Linked DNA regions of Homo sapiens: regions 2, 3 and 4 are each linked to region 1. Evidence: promoter capture Hi-C in 16 types of primary human blood cells and fetal thymus (Javierre and others, 2016). All regions are on one chromosome and are shown on one strand. Each heading gives the region's core, a stretch centred on a gene start or on the middle of the fragment in contact. The rest is flanking DNA. Distances are from core to core; before and after follow the strand shown. Region 1 holds the start of SYT15 (synaptotagmin 15). Region 2 holds the start of LINC00842 (long intergenic non-protein coding RNA 842). Region 3 overlaps LINC00842 (long intergenic non-protein coding RNA 842). Region 4 overlaps LINC00842 (long intergenic non-protein coding RNA 842).

Region 1 (5,911 bases), core at 1,407-3,906:
CTGAGTCCAGTGTTGAGGCACACTGAACTCTAGACAGAGGAAGGGGAAATGTAAGCCACCCCTCCCAGGGTACTGCATGGACAACATGGTCCACACAATGGTCCTAGAGATATCAAGTCCTCATCCCCAACCCCGTGACTACATAGCAAAAGGGGCTTTGCAGGTGTGATTAAGTTAATGATCTTGAGATGGGGGTGGTGGTTATCCTGGATTATCTGATGAGCCTCTTATAGAGAAACGCCACACTCTGAGATGAATTCAGAAGTCCTTTATTAGCCGGCAACCGAGAGACGGCTAGTGCTCAAAATTCTCTCGGCCCTGAAGAAAGGGCTAGATTTTCTTTTATACTTTGGTTTAGAAAGGGGAGGAGGAGCCTAGCTGAAGCACTCTTACAGAAGCAAAACAGGCAAAAAGTTAAAAGACAAATGGTTACAGGAAAACAAACAGTTCCAGGTGCAGGGGTTTTAAATCCATCACAAGGCGATAGATGCGGGGGCTTTGGGTACCATCAACCGGACACAAATGTGGGGGCTTAGGGTACTATCAACTGGGCAAATTCCTGGGAACTGCGGATATAGCTTGCCACAGTATCTTATCCATTAATTGCATTCTTTGATGTGCTGGGAGTCAGCTTGCACAAGTTAAGTCCTTGAGGAAGGGGGGTGGGTAAGGGGCTGCAAGTGAAGGAGCCAAAATGGAGTGTGTCTGGCTCTCTCAGCTAAGGGACAGTCAATTCAGGTTAAAACAAGGTAGGGTATCACACTTACAAGAGGGAGGCAGAAAGAGTTGATGTGAAATGACCTGGAGTGGGAGAGGTTAGAAAAGGCTGTGCTGCCGGCTTTGAAGACAAAGGAAAGGGCCACTAGCTAGCAGCCTCTAGGAGCTGGAAACGCTGGGAAACAGCTCCCTTGCCTCCAGAAGGCACAGGCCCTGCCAACCCAGTTTAGATTCCCGACCCCCCGAACTGTGAGATAACATGCATGTGGCTTAAACTACTCAATCTGTGGTACTTTGTTGCAGGGGCAACAACAAACATACAGACATCTAACTCAGACCCGAGGCCTTGGGTGGGACCCAGGCCCCATTTCCTGAGACACCTGCTCCCACAGCGACCTGGGGTAAGCAGAAGTGGGGGAGGATTCTCCAGACACCCCAGACTGTCTCCAAGTAGAGCGGAGATCTCGCCAGTTAAGCGCACAGCTGAGGACAGTTACTGGGTGAAGTGGCCTGGGTCTCCGCCTTCTCATGCCCCCACCGCCCAGACCCTAGAAGGGGAGTGGCTGCGGCCTCTGCACCCTGGCGCTGAGGGCTCCCAGACCCGGCCCAGTGGGGCACCCCAGTTCACCACCCTCCTCGCCTTAGGTGAGCCAAAGCCCAGGCAGGGTGGAGCCTCACGCACACTGACTGCCCCCTAGGACAGGCACAGGTGACGCGGGGGTGTGGGACCCAGGCTATGACTCTGGACATAACCTTCAAGGCTGTAAAACGAGAAGGTCCATCCCCCCAAAACACGCACTCCCCCACAACCACCCCCTCCCCCCCCCCACACACACACACTCCCCTGCACCACAGATACACACATTCCTTTCGCTCCCCACTCAGACGCCTCGAGGCCTCGGCGGGGGAACCATAGGGGCGCGACCAGGGCGCGCCGAGGTGTGACCAGAGAGGACACGCAGCGACCTTACTCCCGCCTTTCCCGCAAGGCGCGTTCGCCAGCCTGGACTAGTGGGCACGGGCCCTGCGTTCTAATAATCACCATAATAATAGGCGCTGGGTGTACAGAGGGGACCCAGGCGACGCTGGCCTCCATCCGATAACCACCGTAACAGGGGCTGGGCCGCGCCGCTCCTCCGCTCTAAGTGCTCTTTACATGCTTCTTAAGTTACCGGCAGGCCAGCCGCCCTTACGAGAGCCCCTCACGGACATTAACCCAATTGAGAAGACTGAACCCAGCTTACGAACGTTAAGTTGTCCCAAATCGCAGGGCTGGCGAGTGAGGAGCCTGAATTGGAACCCAGGAGCTTCTGGAACCCGCTCCAGAATTGCGCTCTCGACCGGTTTGTCCGCTGAGAGCGAACGGGTGCGCGAGCGCCGCATCCCTGCCCAAGGCCATCAGGCAGGCAGCGCTGGGGCCGGGGACCCGCGCGGAGACTCCACCCCGGGATCCGGGAAGGCTCCCCCGAGCCGGGGTCGGAGCTGCGGCTGGAGGGGCCTCGGCTTGAGGAGGATCTGGGAGGGCGGGGGCTCAGTCCTGGCCACCAGGTGTGAGGGGTCGGGTGCGGAGCCCTGTGTCAGACGCGGCGGTGAAGGCTGTAGCCCTGCTCTCCGGGATGGGGGTGGTACTCTCACCCCACCCTGCCCCAAGCCGCAGGGAGCCCCTGGCGCCCCTGGCGCCCGGGACCCGCCCTGGCTGGAGCCCTGCGGTTTCCGGGAGCTCACGGTCGGCTCTGCGCCCCTCCACCGCCGGGCCTGGGCCTGGGCCAGGGACGGGCTGGGGCGGGACTGCGGCCTCGGGGCGCTGGGTCCCTGCCCCTGCCGTGCACTGCGCGGCTCCCCGCGCCGCAGCTGGGCACCAGCAGCACCACGGACCGCCCCTGTGCTCGCCCGACGGCGCCCCGCGGCGCTTTAAGAGACGGCCTGGCAGCCCAGCCCCAGCCGCCCAGACCGGCGAGACCAGCCTGCGGGAGCAGCCCCATGGCGGGTAAGCGAGCCTCGCCTCCCCAGCCCAGCCCCGGCCCCTCTGCGACCCTTCCAGCACTTGCCTCCGCCCCGCCGCCCCCGCTGGGGTGCAGCGCCTGCCCTGCCCGGCCTCGGCGCGCTCTTGGAGGGGCACTGGGATGGAGTAGACGCTGAGGCCCGCTCTTCGCGGTCAGTTGCGGCTTAGGAGGTGTGGGGGGTCCGGCCTTCTCACCACCCCACCCAGTGCAGATCCCTGAGACCTGAATGCCCCGCGGCCGCACGTCACCCTAAGGGAGGCACCTTTTTGGCCCGCCCCAGGTGGCCAGCGGTTGGAACCCAGCGTCTGAGCACCCCCGGGGCGAAGCCTCCTAGGTCCCGCAAATGCGGACGTGTGAGGGCCAGCAGCAACGGGGTCTTGCCCCCTTTTCCTCCCCACCTCGTCCACCGCGTCGCACCAACTCCCCTAAGCGCGTGCTCACCTTGATAGAGGGCTAGGGGAGGGAGCGGGTGTTAGAGAAGAGTCCAGCCTTGCAGCAGGTTCCAGGGCCCCAGAGGGTAGAGGTTTGATTGCAGACCAGGGGGAAGGTACCTTTCAGGGCTTTCCTTAACTGACTGCGTCCACACCCCAGCTCCCCTCCTGGCCTCAACAGGAGCCCAGGGGATATGGAGGTTCTGGTGAGGGCAGGTTTGATTTCTACTCAGAAGCGCAAGGAAATGGCTTCTTTAAGCCAGAATCCCAAGGGCAGGGCCAGCTGTTTTCCAAGGAAAACTAGAAGGTTCTGCCCAGGGCTCTCAGACCCTGGGGTAAACGGCTTCTCCTCTGAGAGCTGGCGGAACCTAGCCAGCAGCATCCCTCCCGGAACCCATCCCCAGCAGGCCTGCTCCTATCACTCCTGAGATCAAACCCAGAGGCAGGGTTGCTGCCCTAGTTCTGCCCCAGCAGGCCAGGGCTGTGAGGGAGAGTGGCTTTCCCAGGCAGGCATCATAGTACTGGTGGTCTCTGCCCCCAGAGCAGCTGGCCCTGGTGATTGGGGGCACCATCGGGGGGCTGCTGCTGCTGCTGTTGATCGGGGCAAGCTGCTGTCTGTGGAGAAGGTTCTGTGCCACCCTCACCTATGAGGAGCTGCCTGGGACACCAGCCATGGCCACCACAGCTGCCTCCAGTGGGCAGCGGGACAGGCCCTGCCAGCCGCATGCTAGGACCCAACTGAGCAGGTGAGGCAGGATGTGGGGCCAAGTGCGCCCCTGGAATTTCCCTCAGGGTGGGGTCGAAAAGGAAAGTTCTGTTTATGGGGGTGCCTCTTCTATGCTGCTTCGGTGCTGGGAGCTATCACAAAGAAACCCCAGAAACCTCACATCAGCTATTAGGCAGGTGTTATGAAACCCATGTTCCAGGTGAGGAATCTGAGGCTCAGTGCACATAAGCAACAGGTCCAGAGAACACAATTAGTAAGTGGCAGAACAGGAATCCAAACCCAGACTGGCTGACACTGTCAGGTGCTGTGTTCCTTCTTCAAATCCCACTGCTGTGTGTGTGTGTGTGTGTGTGTGTGTGTGTGTGTGTGCGTGTGTGTGTGTGTGTGTTGCCTGGTATGGGCCCAGAAAATGGTGCCCTGGCCTCCTCCTGGCTCCCGATGGCTTTTCTTCCTCCAGCCCCTGGTGCTCAACCGTCCTGGCTGAGCGCTCTGAGACCACACCATTGACTTGCCACCTACATGTTGTCTCCCTGACTCTGGACAGGCCACCAGCTGTGCCATTCGTGGTGCCCCCAACCCTTCAAGGCCGAGATTGGGTGCCCCTGCACAGTGGAGAGTGGGCCGATGCCCCATGGGACCCCTGCCCGGCATCAGAGCTGCTGCCTCACACCTCCAGCGGCGGCCTTGGTGAGTGTCCTTGCCAGGGCTGCCCAGAGGTCAGGGTCTGCTCGGGTGGCCCCATCTGCTTTCACCAGCTTGGCTCCGGAACACAACCTGAACCAGCCAGGGATGCCAGGGACCACCCAGGGACCACTCTTTCTGGGTGCTTTCATTTATGAAGTGCTTGCTGCACCCCATGAGGGTAAGATATGGCCTTGGGTGCTGATTTGGAGTGAGACCTCACCATGACTCTGAGGGGGAGGAATTATCACCCCATTTTACATAGTCTTAACTGAGGCTGTAAGCAACAGATTGGAATTGGAACCCAGGCACGCCATGTACAGAACTTGTGCTGGGTCCCACTCTAGGATGATGGGTTGGTTGACCAAGAGGACAGAATGGTAGGGGCTGCAAACACAGCTTTCTGCCACCTCTTTGCCCTGAAGATCTACCAAGAGACCATCACAGGAACCACCCAATAATCACCTTGGCCCTTCTAATTTGAAGAGGAAGAAGAAAGGCAATGTTTTATCGCTGAGTCATTCCCTAGACGCCATGGAAGGGGGCTAGGCCAGGTGATGGGCACTGTGTCCTTGAAACAGGTCCTGACCTCCAAGGATGGGGGCCAATCCCAGGGGGCAGGACTCTGCTGGATCCCCAGCCTGGCCATGCAATGCCTTCATGGTGAGAAGGCTTCTTGGAGGAGCTGCACCAGAGAGAGGGGATGTGTTTAGCCTGGTGAGGAGAGTGGGGCAGATGTGGTCAGGCTAGCTGAGGCTCAGCAGAGACGGATGGGCCAGGATGGGGATGGGTGCCCAGAGCTTGCCACTGTCTCCCATGCCCCTGCCTTCCTCTGGCCTGCCAGCCCTCCCACCCTCTGTCATAGGAGATGCATGTATGGTGGGGGCCATCAACCCAGAGCTGTACAAGTTCCCGGAGGACAAAAGTGAGACCGACTTCCCCGACGGCTGCCTGGGGCGGCTGTGGTTCTCGGTGGAATATGAGCAGGAGGCTGAGCGGCTGCTGGTGGGCTTGATCAAGGCACAGCACCTGCAAGCCCCCTCGGAGACCTGCAGCCCCCTGGTGAAGCTCTACCTGCTGCCCGATGAGCGGCGCTTCCTCCAATCCAAGACCAAACGCAAAACCTCCAACCCGCAGTTTGACGAGCACTTCATCTTTCAGGTACAGCCTCTGGAGCAGGCAGGGTCTGGTGCCCTCCGCGTTGCTGGGAAGGTGCAGACCTACAGGAGAGCCCAGCCTCCTGTACCAGCCAGGGCTCTGCAGCCCCCGGGACCCTTGATGCCACCAGCTCTGCTTTACCTAGTCTGCTAGGTTAAGGCCTATAGGAGCTGATCCCTGATAGAGGGGCAGGG
Region 2 (5,911 bases), core at 1,535-4,034, 180 kb before region 1:
AGCAGGTCTCCTGTTAGGTCAGTTTAGCCAGCATCACCCTCACCCCTGGCATTTCCTCTTGGTAATTTTCCATCTTTCAACTCCTACCTGCTCCATGGCTCCAAGTCTCAACTTCTCATGCTGTTTTTAGAATCAGCCTGACTGTATATTGAGGTCTCTTTTCGCTTATTGCAATAGTCCTGAATAAAATCTGGTTTTACTACTTTATCGTCTAGCTCTGGTTTTTCTTTGCCATAGGTATTCCCTACCTGTAGCCTTGCCATAGCTCTATCATCGTTGCTTTTTAATTCCCTCCAAGAGATGATATCTACATATACTCCTTCTCTATCCTCAGATCAATGTTTTGCATTTCCTAGGAGCTGAATTCCTTTTCTTCCATTGCAGCACTGGCTGGGAGAGAAGGCACAACATGGTCCAGCATACTGAGCCCCAAGTTTGTCCTGCAGCATGATTTGAGACACAGTGTTCGTGCCGCACAGAATTCTGTGAGCCGTCCAATAGCCTTTCATACATTTGTTTTCTGCTTAAACTACAGAGTAGATGCTCTTGTCAGCACCTAAGAACACCCTCTATTACACAGAACTACACCCTAATGACATTTTATCTGTTTACGTGTCCTCTCAGAAAAGCTGTGAGCCCCTTGAAGGCAGGAACTTTATTTGTTTTTAAACATTCAGGGCCTAGTAGATAGCAGGCTTTCAACAAATATTTTTGAATAACAACAAACAAGAGTATGGACTTTGGGAACAGGAGAGCCTAGTAGCCAGCGAGCCTGAGCCAATCCTTGATGGCCTCCAATTCTGAGAAGAATCTCTGGGCCCCCTTAGGCTCCCTGTGGAAGAAAGCTTACCCAGTCAATCCTAATAAAAATACTTCTGAGACAGATCTAACAGGACAAAGTGGAGTCTCTCCACTCTTTCAGTAGCTCCTTCACCCCAGGTGCTGTTTGGGGTTCTGACACTGCCATGGCATGGCCAGCAGGATGGCCCCTAGGGCTCCTGGGGCTGCTCTATAAGAGCTTCCCACCCCTGACCTGCAGTCCATGAGGGCAAAGCCAGATCCGGGCACATGCCCATCCGTGTTGTTCTCATGCTCTCAGGGGGTAGAGCTAGTGTGTTGGACTTGGCATGTTTAGGGTCACCTCCCTGAGGGTTGACAACCTGAGCAAAATCAGCATTCCCTTGGCAAGGAATAAAGGGGGAATGGATTTGTGGTCAGCAACCCACCGCCAAGCATTCTGCCTGCAACAGGGTGGGGCTGGCCAGGGGAGGCTCCTCAGGGAAGGTGAAAGCTGTGCAGAGTTTTGCAGGATGACTCAGTGCTTATCAGGTAGACAGATAAGGAAGAACATTCCAGGGAGAGGGAGGAATGCTAACAACAGCAGGGGATCTGGTCTGTACTAGACATGCCAAAGGAATGGTGTGTCCATATCAACAGAGGAGGGAGAGACAGAAGAGAAAGAGCTTGTCAGGGCCTGAGTCAGAGCGGGCTCATGCTGTGGGGCTAAGAAGCTCAAATGATTTCCAGAGACAGTGGGGAAGCTTTACAGGGACAGGCAGGGGAAGATCTTAACCCGGCTTTCGTAGGCCTCTGGCTTGAGTATAGAAGGTGAGTCTGGGACAGGGAGCCCAGCGCCGAAGTGTTGCAACACTATAGGGAGACATACAGACCAATTCCCTCCCACCTAACAGCTCTGTGCTTTGGGGTCCTGGGTTAGTTTCCTGGGAGAAGGCTGGCCTTGGCTACCTCTGTCCTTGACCAAGGACATCGTTTTAAATATTTGTGATGTGTCCTAGGCCACTGCATCTCTGTCCCTGTAGCGAAGAGAAGATACTGATTCCTAAGCTCCTACTCTGAGAACACAAATATCTGCAATACCTCGGTAAGCCCTAGGCCTGAGTGTGAGGTTGCAGGCACTTCCATGGCCCCATGCAGGTGTCTAAGTTCCCTCGTGGTATTTGGCCAAGGGGGGCCCTGTGTGATGCCCTAGCGCGGTGACTACCCGTGTTCCTGGCCCATGGGCATCTTCCACGGAATTCTGGGCTTAGCCTGGGGATTCATGCGGGCGCATCTCTGTGATCTGCTCTGGAGCAGGATGTACATCAGGTCTCTCAGACCTGAGTCCCTGGTGCCTGGCGCTCAGCCTTGACTGAAGTGCTCGGCCCACCCTGCTGGGCCAGCCAGCTCCTGCTCAGGGCCACAGCCCTGTAACCACGGCTTCCTCCCCAGGACTCAGGAATTCTCCCACTCCGGAATGCCTTGCTGCTGGGGTGACCAGGTCTTCACTTGTGAAACAGGAGTCAGCCACCTCAGCCCTGCGCCTGGCCTGGTGGAACATGGGTCACCGCCCCAACCTGGGGCAGCCGCCCCATCCCAACGCAGTTGCTGCCGCTCTCCATGCCTCCCTGTGCCCAGCTAACTGGGGGACTTGTCCCCTGGGAAAACCTGGGTACCCAGGCTGCCTTTGGTTTCAGCCCCTACTCCTCTTCCCGGGCTGCCTTTGCTCCCCGGAAGACCCCTTTCCCCGGGCTGTGTTCACATCGGCTGGGAAGGGTCCCTTGCAGACAGATCTTGGACGAGGTCGCGTCCCCCCTCGTGACCAGCAAACTCCTAAAAGCGGCCCTTGCCCCAGAGCCCCTGTAGCCTCCAACCGGCAGTCAGGAGGCAGCGCCGTCTCAGCGCCGCTTAGTGGCGCCAGGCGTGCCTGGAAATCCGCTTTCGCAGCGCCCCCTCGTAGCCGCCTCCGCCCGCAGAAAGGCGTTCCCTGGACAGAGAAGCGGGCGCGCGGGGGCGGGCGCGCGGGGCCTTGCCGGAGAACCTGACTCTCCGCAGCAGCAGTGGAAGCCGGAGTGACGCGTTGTGTTGAACACCAGTTTTCTGGAGCGCTGTGTGTTCTTAACAGCTGAGCAGTCTGTTTCTCCAATCAGGTTTCAAAGCCACTTCAACTGCACTGGCCCCTGTGGGTCACTGCTGCACCGCCCTGACCCATGTGGGTCCCTGAGGAGCGACCTGCCGGGGCCACCTGGCTGGACGAAAAAGACACACCTTGGACTTAAGCCGTGAGAAAAAAACTTCATCAGTAAGAAGAATGAATAAACAGACTAGGTTGAATCCATACAATGGAATGTTAGCAGACAATAAAAAGAAAATGAACTATTGATGTCCCCTACTGCACAGCAGAAGCTCTGAATCGTGTTCCTGAATGAAAGAAGTCAGGTATGAAAGAATAAACATTGTATGATTCCATTTATATGAAAATGAATCTGTGATTTAAAAATCAGACTAGTATTAGGTTGGTGCAAAAGTAATTGCGGTTTTTGCCTTTTTTTTTTTTTTTTAATAGTTGCTTTGGGGTTTATGGATGGAGTGGCATGGTAGAGGTTAGCTGAAGGGGGCATGAAATAACTTTTTGGGGGTGCTAGAGTGTTGTAAATCTTACAGTGGGGGAGGGACAGGAGTGCAGGCATTTGACAAAACACATTGAATTGTGAAATTTAAGATTTTTGAATTTCTTTGTATGTAAATTACCTGCCAATAAAAACATGACGAATAGAGCAGTTATGAGCATTTGTGTGTAGCTTTTTGTGCAAACTTAAATTATAATTTCTCTGATAAAAGCCCAGGAATGTGATTGTTGAGTAATATGGTAAGTGCATGTTTTTTGAGAAACTGTCAATCTATTTTTGGGAGTGGCTGTGTGTATCATGTTATATTCTCACAAGCAAGGGATGAGAAATTTGGTTTCTCTGCATCCTTGCTAGCATTTGGTTTTATCATTATATTTTTATTTCAACTGCTCAAATAAGTGTGCAGTGATTTCTCATGATCTCAATTTGCATTTCCCCAAAGGCTAATGATGTTAAATATATTTCCACATGCTGATTTGACTCGGCCATGAAATGTCTCTTCATGTCTATTGCCCAATTTCTTATCAGATTTTTTTTTTTACTGTTGAGTTTTGAGAGCTCTTTATGCATTGTAAATGTGAGTCCTTTGTCAGATATGCAGTTTGCAAATATTTTCTCCCCTCCATAGCTTGTCCTTTCATCATCTTAACAGAATATTTTGCAGAGGCAAAGTTTTTAATTTTGATGAAGTCCAATTTATCAATTCTTTCTTTAATGAATCGTACTTGGGTGCCATGCCTATGAACTCATCCTCAACTCCTAGGTCCAGATGATTTTCTCCTGTGTCTTCCTATCATAGCCAGAAACTAGAAAAGAACCAAAATGTCCCTCACTAAGTGAATGCTTAAACTAAGTGACACATCTATGCCAATATTCAGCAATAAAAAGAAACATTATTCATGCAAATAACTAAATGGATGGATCTCAAGAGCATTAGGCTAAGTGAAAAAAACCAATCTCAAAAAGTCACATACTGTACGATTTCACTTGTATAACATTCTTCCAGGGGCAAAATTATAAACAGTGAAAACAGATTAGTGGTTGGCAGGCGTTAGAGGCGGTGGTGGGGAAGTGTGACTACAAAGAGGTAGCAGGAGAGATCTTGGGATGATGGGATAGTTTTGTGTCTTGGTGGTTACAGGAATCTACACATGTGATACAATGTAATAGAAGAACACACATTGTGCTAATGTCAGTTTCTTTGTTTTGATATTGTTTTGTAGAATGTAAAACGTAAACAGTGGAGAAACTGGGTGAAGGATATTGGGACCCCTTCACAAATTCTTGTCAATCTATGATTATTTGAAAATTTAAAAGTCTAAACATACATAAAATAAAAACCTAAAAGGCAAAAAAGTAATGCACGCACTTGATAAAAATCAAGTAGTACAAAAGAGTAAATGGTGAAAATAAATCTCTGCACCACTCTAGAGACCCCAGCCAAAGTCCTCTCCAAACTCTCTCACAGTTATTAAGTTTCTTGTATATGCTTCTAGAAATTCATCTTGCATATGCTTCTAGAAAATCAAGTAGTACAAAAGAGTAAGTGGTGAAAATAAATCTCTGCACCACTCCAGAACCCCCAGCCAAAGTCCTCTCCAAACTCTCTCACGATTGTTAAGTTTCCTGTATATGCTTCTAGAAATTCTCTAGGAATACGCAAAAATATATGTACTTTCCCTACTTCTCTAGCTTTTGTCTAATGCTAGTCTTCTTTCTATTTTTAATTATATGTATTTAATATATCTTTAGGAAAAATTAATACTTTTTAACAGCAGTGTAAGATTTCATTGTGAATGTACCATAATTTATTTAACCAATCTCTACTCATTTAATCTGTTTTTGGTTGTTTAGGCTGGTTTCGGTAGCTTGTTATTGGAAGTTATTGCAATAAACATTCTTATATTACTTTGTATCATCATAGGATAGACTCCTAAAATATTGTGTTTAGATCAAAGGGCATGTGGAATTGTACTTAAGATAGATTTTGTCAAGAAGTCCCCATTCTCATCAGTACAGAAGGAAAATACCAATTTCCTAAACCTCTTACTAAGACAGTACATCTTCAAAATTTGATCCTCACTCATCTGGTGGACAAAGTATAGTAATTCAGTGTTTTAGTTTGACTTCCCATGATGACAAGTGAAGCTTTAAACATGATGCTTTTTATATATTTAAAGGCCTTTTGTGTCATTTTCCTGTGAACTGTTGGCTCAGGTCCATCCTTCAGTGGAGTTTAGTGAATCTGCCTCATTTCCCTAATCAATTCTGTCTCTTACCACTGGAAAGGAATACCACAGTTGTTTACCCATTCGTTGACGGACATTTGGATTGTTTCTACTTTTCGGGTGTTATGAATAATGCTGCTTTGAAAACACTTGTACAAGATATTGTGTGGATATAGGTTTTCAGTTCTCTTGGGTATGTATCTAGGAGTGGAATTCCTTGGTCATATGATAATACTACACCCAACTTTTTGAGGAACTACCAAACTGTTTTCCAAA
Region 3 (5,911 bases), core at 2,262-4,761, 160 kb before region 1:
GCATTCTCTATCTCTTGTTGTTTCTTAGGTGGAGGAGGTACCTGCCTCCTCCCTACCTAGAACGTGAGCCTAGTAAAGGGATGGGCCTCACCTGTTTCAGGTTTGACCTCCAATGCCCGTCACGTAGAAGCTCAACACCATTTCCAATGCCAGAAGTGACAGGACAACAGCAACAATAGCAATATTTCTGTACCACTCCCCTCACTTTCCAAAGAGAAGTAATTCCCAGCTTGGACCTTCCCTTGCTGGGAGGGGTGCCCAGGTGTGGCCTCTCTGTGACCTTGGACCCTGGCTCCGGCATATGCCAGCCTGGCCTTTCCCCAGGGTAGGGAGCTGGCACCCTGGGCATTCCCCAGCCAGCATCCAGCCTTCTTGGGCAGGGCCTTTCCACACCATTCCTCCCAAATCCTCACTGGCCCACCCTGGAACAAATGCAGGCGGAAGCTCGCATCCCCACCTCTGCTGTTTCTGCTGGGTCCCCAAAGAGCTTTCTTTAGGGAAAAAGAAAGCAGGCCAGTGCCTGCTCCTTTTAGACCCCACAGTGGGGCATGGGGTGGGCCTTGGTTGGCCTTAATTTTCCATTCACCTGAGGAGTGGCTCAATCTCACTCACTCCCATTGCAGGTGGATGTCAGCCAAACTGGATGCATAAGGTTTTTGTGATTTAGGAGTTGCAACAGGGGAGATAAAATGCCTAGGAATGTCTTCAGTTGGAAAAAAGGGGCATGATCCTCACATTCTGTAACCTGAGCACTTTATCTCCTCTCTCCCCTTCCTTCACTGATACAAGAAAGGAGACTCCAGCACTAGTTTCCTCAGTCCTTCTGCAGGGCGGGGCTTCTCACGGCCTCAAAGTCATGGAGAAGAGTGTGCACAGGACACCTCACTTTAAGCAAAGCCCATAGACCGTATTTGAGAAAAGGAGTTAAATAAAGAGGCAGCCACCAACAAACAAGAGCCCTGTGGTCACTCAGGTCCCATAGACTCTAGAGGTCAAAGGGCCTCCGAGCATTTGAGAATCAGAGAGGGCAAGTAACTTGGCTGATATCACATAGCACGAAGGTGGCAGAGCCAGGATTCTACCTGCTGGCCTCCCAGATGTCTTTCCTGTTGGACCCTGCTTGCTGGCCACTCCTGGTGGGGGTCACTCCACCATTAGTGTGTTCGTCAAACTGACAGTTGTGGTCCAGATCCCTTGCCTCTGGTGTGCCCAGCACCTTAGCTGGCACCTCCCTCAGCAAACCCAGCCTTCGCCATCCTCTCAAGCATACTTCCCAGGGCTGTTTTGTCCATTACGGTCCCAGAATATAAGGCCTTTGGGTTTTTTCAGGGCCTGTGAAAAGGTTTGAAACATGAAAAACATACTGGCAGTTCCAAAATTCTCAAATAAAACTGTAGAAATGCCTTAGGAATTAAATATGTAATAAGATGTGAACACTTCATTACACACCTACAATTAGTCACATGCCTACGATATGTGAATAATGTCAGGTCAGCTAGTGAACTGTTATATAGTAATTGCGCATCACTTATATAGATATACACAAAGTGCACTTACTGACTTGGATGTGTGTGTTCATTGTTTGAAGTGGCGTGGATGGAGGCTCCAAAAGATAAAAGAATGTAGGGGAGGTGACTCTTCAAATGGCCCTCACCCACCCCTTACCCTCAGCTCACCCACCATGAAGCTTCCCCTTCCAAGGAGGACACACCTCCTTTCCTAGAACATTCTTCAGTGCCACAAGCTGCTCAGTCAGCCCTGATTCTGGAGTCTCCAGTGAGCGAGGCCTGGGGTGGCCCCAGCGGGATGAGCCACACTCCCCACAGCACTCAGCCTGGATGTGGCACTGGCTGCACATAGCAAGAGGCAGCTATTGGACACCTGCTCGCCACAAGTTCTGTCTTATCCTCCCAGCAACACCGAGTGAGGGAGGGAGTGTTAACCCACCATTCACCAGGTTTACCAGAGACCAAGCCCAGGCTCTCCCCACTGCACACTTTTAAAAGGGTCCTTTCAGCTTCCCATTAAAGTGGTTTGTTCCTTTGTTCCTCCTCTCCTGTTCTTCCTAAGACATCATCACTGAAATTTAAGCTTATAAATTTAAAATGGAGTAAATCTATAAGGGAAAAGCATTAAAAAAAGAGAGAAAGATGGCTTACTAATGGATGAGAGTCCAACACATTTCTGGAAGACAGGGTTCATGAGAGGCCTAGCACTGTGGCTCCCACCTGTAATCCCAGCACTTTCGGAGGCTGAGGCAGGAGGATCGCTTGAGGACAGGAATTCAAGCCTGCAGTGAGTTACCGTCACACCACCCTACTCCAGCCTAGGCAACAAAGCGAGACCCCATCTCTTAGAAAAGAAAAAAGAAGATTCACAAGAGGGTGTGGCAATATTAGACAGGCTAAGCCCCCAGGTGTACCCAGTGTAACCACAGGGGCCCTTCGGTGGAAGGGAGAAGCAGAAGAGGTCAGAGTGAAGCCACACCTGCTGTGACAATGGAGGGAGAAAGTGGCTGGCCAAGGAACTCCATCAGCTTCTAGAAGCTGGAAAAGGCAAGGAAACAGTCTCCACCCGGAGCCTTATGGGAACACAGCCGCCTCATGGGAACACAGCTGCCCTGTGACACTGATTTTAGCCCCGTGAGGCCCATGCTGGACTTCTGGCCTCCAGAACTGTAAGATTTGTGGTGCTCTAAGCAAATCATAAATTTGTGGAAATTTGTTACAGCAGCAACAGAAAAGTAGCACAGGCAGCCTACGTGCTAATTCTCATCTTACCTGAGGTGGGGTGTACAATACACCCTGCGTTAGTTGGAAAGCTGAAACAATTCTCTAATGCTAATACTGAAATTGTCAGGTCGGTGTAACTGTGACAGTCCGGAAGCAATGGAGGCTTCAGTGAGCAGGACTAGCTGCCTTTCTCACCACCACAGCTTGATCTCTCTCACAACTTCCTCTCCACCTCCACTGACCTCTGGGTTGGTTTTCTCCTGCACGATCTTTCCACGTGTCAGGGGCCTGGAGGCACCCTACAAGAGCTGATTTTACATTTCCTTCCTAGAGGTAATCCCAGAACAAAAGAGAGCAGTTTTATTTATTTTTTTCAAGAGAATTAAATTGTTTATTGATTACACATGATAATGGATGATACACAAGCTTCATTCCCATCTATAATTTAATCTGGTACCATTATTCAATTAGATATGTTACATAGGATGTGCCAACAATTACTTTTATAACCAATAATTCCATGATTTTGCTTGGGTAATCCCTTTTAATGGTGACTGAAATCATGACTGACCGAGTCAGTGGCTAGAAAAGGGGCTTTGCCTTTGTAACTTTTGACGACCATGACTCCGTCGTTAAGATTGTCATTCAGAAATACCATACTGTGAATGACCACAACTGTGAAGTTAGGAAAGCCCTGTCAAAGCAAGAGATGGCTAGTGCTTCATCCAGCCAAAGAGGTCGAAGTGGTTCTGGAAACTTTGGTGGTGGTCGTGGAGGTGGTTTCAGTGGGAATGACAACTTTGGTATTGGAGGAAACTTCAGTGGTCTTGGTGGCTTTGGTGGCAGTCGTGGTGGTGGTGGATATGGTGGCAGTGGGGATGGCTGTAATGGATTTGGTAATGATGGAAGCAATTTTGGAGGTGGTGGAAGCTACAATGATTTTGGCAATTACAACAATGAGTCTTCAAATTTTGGACCCATGAAGGGAGGAAATTTTGGAGGCAGAAGCTCTGGCCCCTGTGGCAATGGAGGCCTATACTTTGCAAAACCATGAAACCAAGGTGGCTATTGGCGGTTCCAGCAGCAGCAGTAGCTATGGCAGTGGCAGATTTTAATTAGGAAACAAAGCTTAGCAGGAGAGGAGAGCCAGAGAAATGACAGGGAATCTACAGGTTACGACAGATTTGTGAACTCAGCCAAGCACAGTGGTGGCAGGGCCTAGCTGCTACAAAGAAGACATGTTTTAGACAAATACTCATGTGTATGGGCAAAAAATTCGAGGACTGTATTTGTGACTAACTGTATAACAGGTTATTTTAGTTTCTGTTCTGTGGAAAGTGTAAAGCATTCCAGCTAAGGGTTTTAATATAGGTTTTTTTTTTTTTTGCACCCATGCTGTTGATTGCTAAATGTAATAGTCTGATCATGACGCTGAATAAATGTCTTTTGTTTTAATGTGCTGTGTAAAGTTAGTTTACTCTGAAGCTATCTTGGTAAATTTCCCCAACAGTGTGAAGTTAGAATTCCTTCAGGGTGATGCCAAGTTCTATTTGGAATTTATATACAACCTGCTTGGGTGGAGAAGCCATTGTCTTCAGAAACCTTTGTTGTAGTTGAACTGATAGTTACTGTTGTGACCTGAAGAGAGCAGTTTTAGTAGTGAAAGTCCTGCAGGATTCCTAGTGGTCAAGATTGGGGAGCATGCCTGTATCCCACAGTGGCCAGGGCCCAGGACATATGCCTGGCCCTGTGACTGGCTGGTCATGGGCACAGGCCCCCGGGAGGGAGGGGAGAGTCCTTTCAGAAGAAGGGGAGGGTATGGGAACAGACCCAACCTGACCGCCCCAGACCGTTACTCTCCCTGAGGTGGATGGAATGCAGAATCAAAGTACAATTATATGGTTTAAAGTTTTAAAAGTAAATAACAGAAAACTAAAAATAATTATGCCAAAATGATAAAACTTTGGAAGGATGAAGGGAGGAAGCAGAGGTGCATAATGAGGCCATTTCTTATGTTCCATCACAGGAGGTAGATAAATTTTCTCCAGATGAATAAAAAAATAAGGGTGCCTATACATGCTACTAAGCATTGTGGAGGCACCCACCAGAAGTACTAAAAATGGAAATGTTTACAAGAAGTTGCCTCTGGAGAGTGAGGCCAGGACTGGGGAGGGGAGAGGATAGAAACTGTTTTCTCTCACCATAAACCCTTCTCTCATATTTGATTTGTTCCTATCTGTTTGTTTTACATTGATCACAAGATGTGCTGTGAGAGTGAAAGATTTTTAAATATTTAGATGGATGTCCTGAGCTTTGATATGAAATGCTGATCTGATCAATATCTAATATTATAACTCCATTTGGGATAAAATTTTAGGGTCATGGGGAAAAAACATAATTTGGAATCATCTTCATTCATATGCAAGTTATGCTTTTTAAGAAGGAAACTCCTTGATTCTCATCTGCTGTGCTGAATCTTTAGGAGTTTAACCTGCTATGTCACATGTTTCAATAAAAGAGAGATGTTCCCAGCCTGTTAAACAACAAACTCGCCTGCTTAAATCAAAAAGCAATTATGAATGAATGAATGAACTCTTGTCATCACCCTCTCTCCAGGAGAGAGTAAGGCACATTCATTCTCACAAGAAGACCTGGCCTCACCCCATTTCTCTGTTTCCCAGGCATATGGCTCATCTGCGTCCAGTGTATGTTTGGCCAGGACACTGGACATGTCCCACTTGGCTCCTGCCTCTTGCCCCTGCCAGTCTGGCCTACGGCCGTGGGTCTGAGGGGAGGACTGGGAGCCATCAGAGACAGCAGCTGGCCAGGATCTGATTTGGAGGCCTAGTACTCAATGCAGAGTTACTCTTCAGGCCCCAGCTCCTTCATGCAGGGCTCCTGGGCCACATATTCAGAGTCAGATTCCCCACCCTTCTCCAGAGATTCGGGTCATTGACTTACACCAAAGCTGGAAGCCATAAATCAGGAGACTTCATTGGTCTCATTCCTGAACCCACCCCTGCAACCTTTGGTCATCGCCCCATAGGCCAGCCCTGGCCATCCACCCATCTCCCTGATGCTCCCTCCATCCTGCTCTGGGACTCCTCTCCTTCCTGCTCTTCCGCCACGGCTGACTCTGCCTCTTCGTCACTGTTCCACTGGGAGGCCCATTTCAGAGC
Region 4 (5,911 bases), core at 1,357-3,856, 140 kb before region 1:
CAGTGTTTTAAGAGGATTTTATTTTTTTTAAAAAAAGTACATCGTGAATGAGTATTGCATATTGTCAAATGCTTTTATAACATCTATCTAGATCATCACCTGGGTTTTCTGCTTTAAACTGCTAGAATTGCATTCATTGATTGGTCAATTGCACTGATTAACTTTGCATTTCTAGGATAAGCACTCTTGGTCATAGTGTATTACCCTCTACATATATTCCTAGATTCAACATACTGAAATATTTTAAGGATGTTTGCATGTATATTCCTTTTTTTTTTTTTTTTTTGGAGACAGAGTCTTGCTCTGTCTCCCAGCCTGGAGTGCAGTGGTACGATCTCAGCTCACTGCAACCTCCACTTCCCAGGTTCAAGTGATTCTCCTGCCTCAGCTTCCTGAATAGCGGGGATTACATGCGTACACCACCACACCCAGCTAATTTTTTGTATTTTTAGTAGAGATGGGGTTTCACCATGTTGCCCAGGCTGGTCTTGAACTCCTGGCCTCAAGTGATCCACCCACCTCAGCCTCTCAAAGTGCTGGGATTACAGGCGTGAGCATGGTGCCCAGCTGCATGTATATTCCTTGTGGACATTGGCCTATAAGATTTTTTTCTTGTAGTATCTTTTCTCTGAGTTTGATATCAGGATTATGCTGATCCCATAAATTAAGTTAGAAAGTCTTTCCTCCTCCTTTACTTTCTGCAAGTTTGTATAAAAGTGATACTACTACTTCCTTAAATATTTGATTGAATTCACTAGAGAAGTCACTGGAGCCTGGAATTTTCCTTGTGTGAAAGTTTTTAATTACAAAGTTAATTTCTTTAATGGTTATAAAGCTATTCAGGTTATCTATTTTTTCTTCACTGGGCTTTAGTAATTTTTCTTTTGAAAAATTTTCCCATTTCCTCTGGGTTGTCAAATTTGTTGCCGTAAAGCTTCTATAATATCCCCATATTATTTCTTTAATCTCTACATAGTCTGTAATTTTTATTCCCTCTTTTATTAGTGATGTTGGTAGTTTGTTTTATGACTTTTTATTAGGAGTTTATCAATTTTATTGATCTTTTCAAAGAACTTTTTATCTTATTGACTTTCTTTATTATTCCGTTTTCTATTACATTGTTTTCTGCTATTAACTTGATTTCCTTTCTTCTACTTACATTAGGTTTAATTGGCTCCTCTTTTTCCAACTTCTAAAAGTAAAGCTTAAATCATTGACCTTGGACTTTTTATATTTTCTAATAAAAATCATTTAAAGTTATAAATTTGTCTCTAATCATTACAAAAATTTTGATATTCTGTGTTCTAATTCTTATTTAGGAAAAATTATTTTAAAATATCTTTTGTGATTTTCTCTTTGATCCATGTATTATTTAAAAGTATGTTGCTCAGTTTCCAAATACTTGGGGATTTTCTAGATATCCTTCTGCTATTAACTTCTATTTTAGTTCCACTGAATTTAGATAACATGTTCTATATTATTTTGGTCCTCTTAAATGTATAAACTTGTTTTCTGCCCCAGATATGGTCCATTATAATGAAAGTTTTGTGTTCAGTTGGAAACAATGTGGATTCTACGAATACGGTGAATTGCATTGATTGATTTATTGCGCTGTTGATTAAACTGACTTTGCATTCCTAGGATATAGAACACTACACCTAAAAATCTGTATTTAGGTAGAAGGTTCTATAGGCATCAATTAAATCAAGTTGGTTAGTAATATTGTTCAAGTGTCCTTCCCCTTTATTCATTTTTTCTACTTGTTCTATAAGTTACTGAGAAACAAGTATGACAATTTGTAAATATAAGTGTAGATTTCTCTACTTCCCCCTTCATTTCTGTCCATTTCTTTGTCATATTTTGAAGTTCTATTATTAGGTGAATATATGTTTACAATTTTTCTCTTTCTGATAAATTTATCATTATGAAATGTTCTCGTTTATTTCTTGTTCTGCATATTTCTTGTTCTGAAGTTTACTTTTTCTGATATTTAACTAGCCCCTCCAACTTTGTTATAATTGGTGCTACATGGTATATTTTTTTCCATCCTCTTACTTTTGACCTACCTGTGCCTTTAAATTATTGAGGTCTTCAGACAACATAGAGTTGAGTCTTGCCTTATTATACAGTCTAAAAATATTTGTCTTTTTATTGGAATTTTTAGACCAGTTTCATTTTATATAATTATCAGTATAGTTGGGTATAAATCTACCATTTGTCATTTGTTCTCTGTTTATTTCATCTGTTCTTCATCCTTTATTTCTCTTTTCTTGATTTCTTTTAGAGGAATTAAAAATGTTTATGGTTCTATTTTATCTCCACTGTGAGTTCATTAGCTATAACTCTGGCTTCATGTTTAGTGGTTGCATGAGGGTATACAATATGTATCATTAGCTCATTACAAATATACTATTATAACACTTTATGTACAATGTAAGACCTTACAACCATATACTTCCGTTTCCTCCATTCTGTCCATCATGCTATCATTACATATTTTGCTTTAATAGGTTATAAGCCACACAGTACATTGTTATTATTTTTGTTTAAACAATCAATTATCTTTTAAGGAAATTTAAAAATGAGAAAAGCCTTTGTATTTACCCACATACTTACCATTAAGTGTTTTTCATCCTTTGTCCACTTAGTATCACTTCACATTAGAAACACCTGGTGAGTCTTATTATATTTGTTAGTGTGAGGAAAATAATTGAAAGTATACACCGTTACCCAGCTCCTTGTCTCTTATAAGGGGTTGATTAGGAGTATCCAGTGGTGATATCTTTATTGCTAGATCATGCCATGGACTATTAGTGCTCTCTTTACAATTGGAAATAAAGTTATTAGCAACTTAAAATGTAATCAGATTAGAGACCCAATTTTGGAATAGATAGATATGATTATACTTAAATATAATATATAACTATATATAATTTTGTACATATGCATAACGTGTGTGTGTGTGTGTGTGTGTGTGTGTGTGTGTAAGGAATTGGCTCCTATGATTATTGAGGCTGACAAGTCCCAAAATCTGCAGTTAGTAAGCTGGAAACAGCAGAGCCAATGGTGTACTTCCAGTTCAAAGGCTGGCAGGCTCAAGACTCATAAAAAGCTGATACTTCAGTTCAAAAATGGCAGGAAAAAAAAAAAACCACCTCCCAGCTCAAAGCAGTCAGGCAGGATGAAATTCTCTCTTACTTGCAGGAGAGTCAGTCTGTCTGTTCTATTCCGATCTTCAATAGATTTGATGAAGCCCACCCACATTTCTTAGCCACTGGCATTTAGCAATTGGATTATGTTTTACCTTGCATAGTTTTCTTTGTGCTTATCTTGCTTTTGATCTATTGAGCATCATGGATGGGTGGTTTTGTATGTTTCATCAAATTTGGAGCATTTTTTACCATTATTCAAATATTTTTTCTCTTCCCTCTTTCCTTTCCTTCTCAGCTTCCAATTACAAGTATGTGATCCATATACTTGCATGAATATTTTCCCACAGGTTACTAAAGATTCATTTAAATTTTCTTTTTAGTCTCTTTTGACTGAATTTTAGTTTTGAAAGTTTCTATTGCAACTTTCAAGTTCACTGATCTTTTCTTCTTCACGTCTAATCTGTTCATTTCATAAAGAAATTTTTTTATTTAAGATTTTTATTTTTGGCCCTTGTATTTCCTTTTTAATTTTTCTCCTTCTTTGATGATTACTTTCATGTTTCCTTTAAATTCGTGTGTATATCTGTAATTGGTGTTTTCAATCCTTTGTGTGCTATTTCCAACATCCATCATTCCTGAGTGTGTTTCTATTGACTGGTTTTTCTCTTGGTAGGAGTTGCACTTCTGTGCATCTTTACATGTCTGTATTTCTTATATGACACCAAACATTGTTAATTATACCTTACTTAATGCTAGATTTTGTTGTCCTCCTCTAAAGATTGGTAGATATTTTTCTGGCAGCCAGCTGAGTTACTTAGAAATTACCCTGACCCTTTTGAGGTTTGTTTTGAAGCTTTGACTGAAGGAAAGGGGTTAGATTAGACTTTATTTAGGGCTTCTTTACTCCTCCTGCCAAGACATGACTTTTCTGGGATGTCAACTGAACGCACCAGATTTTCTACAAGGACGCTCCACTCTGGCTGGTAGGAATGCAGGAGTCCCCCCATGTCCCACATGAGCTCTGAAAGTGCCTGCTCACTGCTTTCCAATCACCCTTTGCCCAGCCTCCTGGAGTTTTATGATAGACATCCACAACCTAATTTTTATAACAGATCCATGGGGAACCCTGTTGTATTAATCTGTTCTCACACTGCTATAAAGAATGACCTGAGACTGGGTAATTTATGAGTTAAAGAGGTTTAGTTGACTCACAGTTCCACAGGCTGTACAGGAAGCATGGTTGGGGAAGCCTCAGAAAACTTAAAATCATGGAAGAAGGGGAAGAGAAAGCAAACACATCCTTCACATGGTGGAGCAGGAGGGGAAGTGATAATCTCATGAGAACTCACTCACTATCACAAGAACAGCAAGGGGGAAATCTGCCTCTATGATCCAATCATCTCCCCCCAGGCCTCTCCTCCAACACTAAAGACCACAATTCAACAGGAGATTTGGGTAGGGACATAGAGCCAAGCCATATCAACTGTACAGATTTCTGGATATTTTTCTGTACATTACTCCCTCCTCTCAAAACTGCTGCATTGGGGATTAAGTTTCCAACACATAAACTTTGTGGGACACATGCAACCATAGCAATTCCCTTCCAGGGAGGTTCTGCAAAGAGGCCTGCCACTGATTCCTCATTGCATGGAGATGAGATCTCCCTTATTCTGCAAGGCCATGTGGTTTTTCCATCTCTTTCTAATCTGAGTGTTCAGGTAAAAGTCCATACCTGCTAACAGGGGCAAGCAGGTGCTAAAAACTAGTGAAAAAACTAGTGAAGAGGGCCCAACTAACTGAAGAGTAGCATGCCCACCCAAAGGGTCAGCTGTGACCAAGATCCCACAAAGGTAGCCATGCACAAATGCAGGCCAGGGCTGCTTGACTTCAGATTCTTCAAAAGAAGCTGCAAGTCACAATTTTTACATGAAATGTCCTGTGTGTTAAAAGTTAGCAACTGTGGGCCAGGCTCGGTGGCTCACGCCCGTTATCCCAGCACTTTGGGAAGCCGAGGAGGGTGGATCACAAGGTCAGGAGTTCAAGACCAACCTGGCCAATATGGTGAAACCCTGTCTCTACTAAAAATACAAAAATTAGCTGGGCTTGGTGGCACATGCCTGTAATCTCAGCTACTCGGAAGGCTGAGGCAGGAGAATTGCCTGAACCCAGGAGGCGGAGGTTGCAGTGAGCTGAAGTCATGCCACTGCACTCCAGCCTAGGTGAAAAAGGGAGACTCTGTCTCAAAAAATAAAAAAAAAGTTAGCAACTGTGGAGGACAAACAAAATGCTGACCCTGTCTTCAGACTTCTCCTTGGATGGAAGGGTGGCAGACCCAAAGCCTTTGGCTTAAGAAATCTCCCCAGGGCCAGGTCCTAACAAAACGTGGCTTCTCCCATGATGTCCCCCATGTGTCAATGCTAAACCGACCCTCTGGCTCTGACAATTCAAAGTCAACTCAACAAATGCTTACTAAGCATTTGCTGCCTGACAGGCTCTGGCCTTGATGTTGGGAATAAGACTGGACCTGTCACTCATATCTCTGCCCTCAGAGATGTGACCTCAGAGATTAAACCTCTAGTGTTTACTAGAGGTTAAACACCAGTGAGGAGGCAGATATTAGCCCAACCATCGCAAGAATACATGACTACAAACTGAGATAAATATTAGGAAGAAAAATTGGAGGAAACTAAGAGAGTTTATTACAGCAGATTTTACTGGCTATGATATTTGAACTGAATGTTGAAGGATGGATAGCATTC

The links. Contacts are between HindIII fragments. The CHiCAGO score rates a contact against its expected background, and 5 or more counts as called.
Region 2: a contact is called between the fragment with the promoter of LINC00842 here and the fragment with the promoter of SYT15 in region 1, in 5 of 17 cell types (M0 macrophages, endothelial precursors, M1 macrophages and 2 more). The highest score is 7.4, in M0 macrophages.
Region 3: a fragment that was not itself captured here is called in contact with the fragment with the promoter of SYT15 in region 1 in 2 of 17 cell types (endothelial precursors and M0 macrophages); the score reaches 5.9 in endothelial precursors.
Region 4: a fragment that was not itself captured here is called in contact with the fragment with the promoter of SYT15 in region 1 in 1 of 17 cell types (monocytes); the score reaches 5.1 in monocytes.

The regions. Positions count from the first base shown.
Region 1 is chr10:46,576,472-46,582,382 of GRCh38, forward strand. It overlaps SYT15 (synaptotagmin 15), which reads left to right and starts at 2,657. Exons shown (of 8, transcript NM_031912.5): 1 at 2,657-2,704; 2 at 3,693-3,897; 3 at 4,423-4,565; 4 at 5,425-5,720. The coding sequence starts at 2,698. SYT15-AS1 (SYT15 antisense RNA 1) reads right to left here. Exons shown (of 2, transcript NR_155739.1): 2 at 5,697-5,911. RefSeq lists enhancers at 2,522-3,399, 3,400-4,279. The HindIII fragment of the contact is 10,756 bases long and covers 1-5,911 here.
Region 2 is chr10:46,395,578-46,401,488 of GRCh38, forward strand. It overlaps LINC00842 (long intergenic non-protein coding RNA 842), which reads left to right and starts at 2,785. Exons shown (of 4, transcript NR_033957.2): 1 at 2,785-3,216. RefSeq lists an enhancer at 1,045-1,660. The HindIII fragment of the contact is 4,014 bases long and covers 1,544-5,557 here.
Region 3 is chr10:46,412,571-46,418,481 of GRCh38, forward strand. All of the region lies in intron 1 of LINC00842 (long intergenic non-protein coding RNA 842), which reads left to right. It also overlaps the pseudogene HNRNPA1P33. Among named protein-coding and RNA genes, the nearest start is that of LINC00842, 17 kb to the left of the region's middle. The HindIII fragment of the contact is 702 bases long and covers 3,161-3,862 here.
Region 4 is chr10:46,432,552-46,438,462 of GRCh38, forward strand. The region is part of intron 1 of LINC00842 (long intergenic non-protein coding RNA 842); the gene reads left to right. Among named protein-coding and RNA genes, the nearest start is that of NPY4R, 30 kb to the right of the region's middle. The HindIII fragment of the contact is 2,801 bases long and covers 1,207-4,007 here.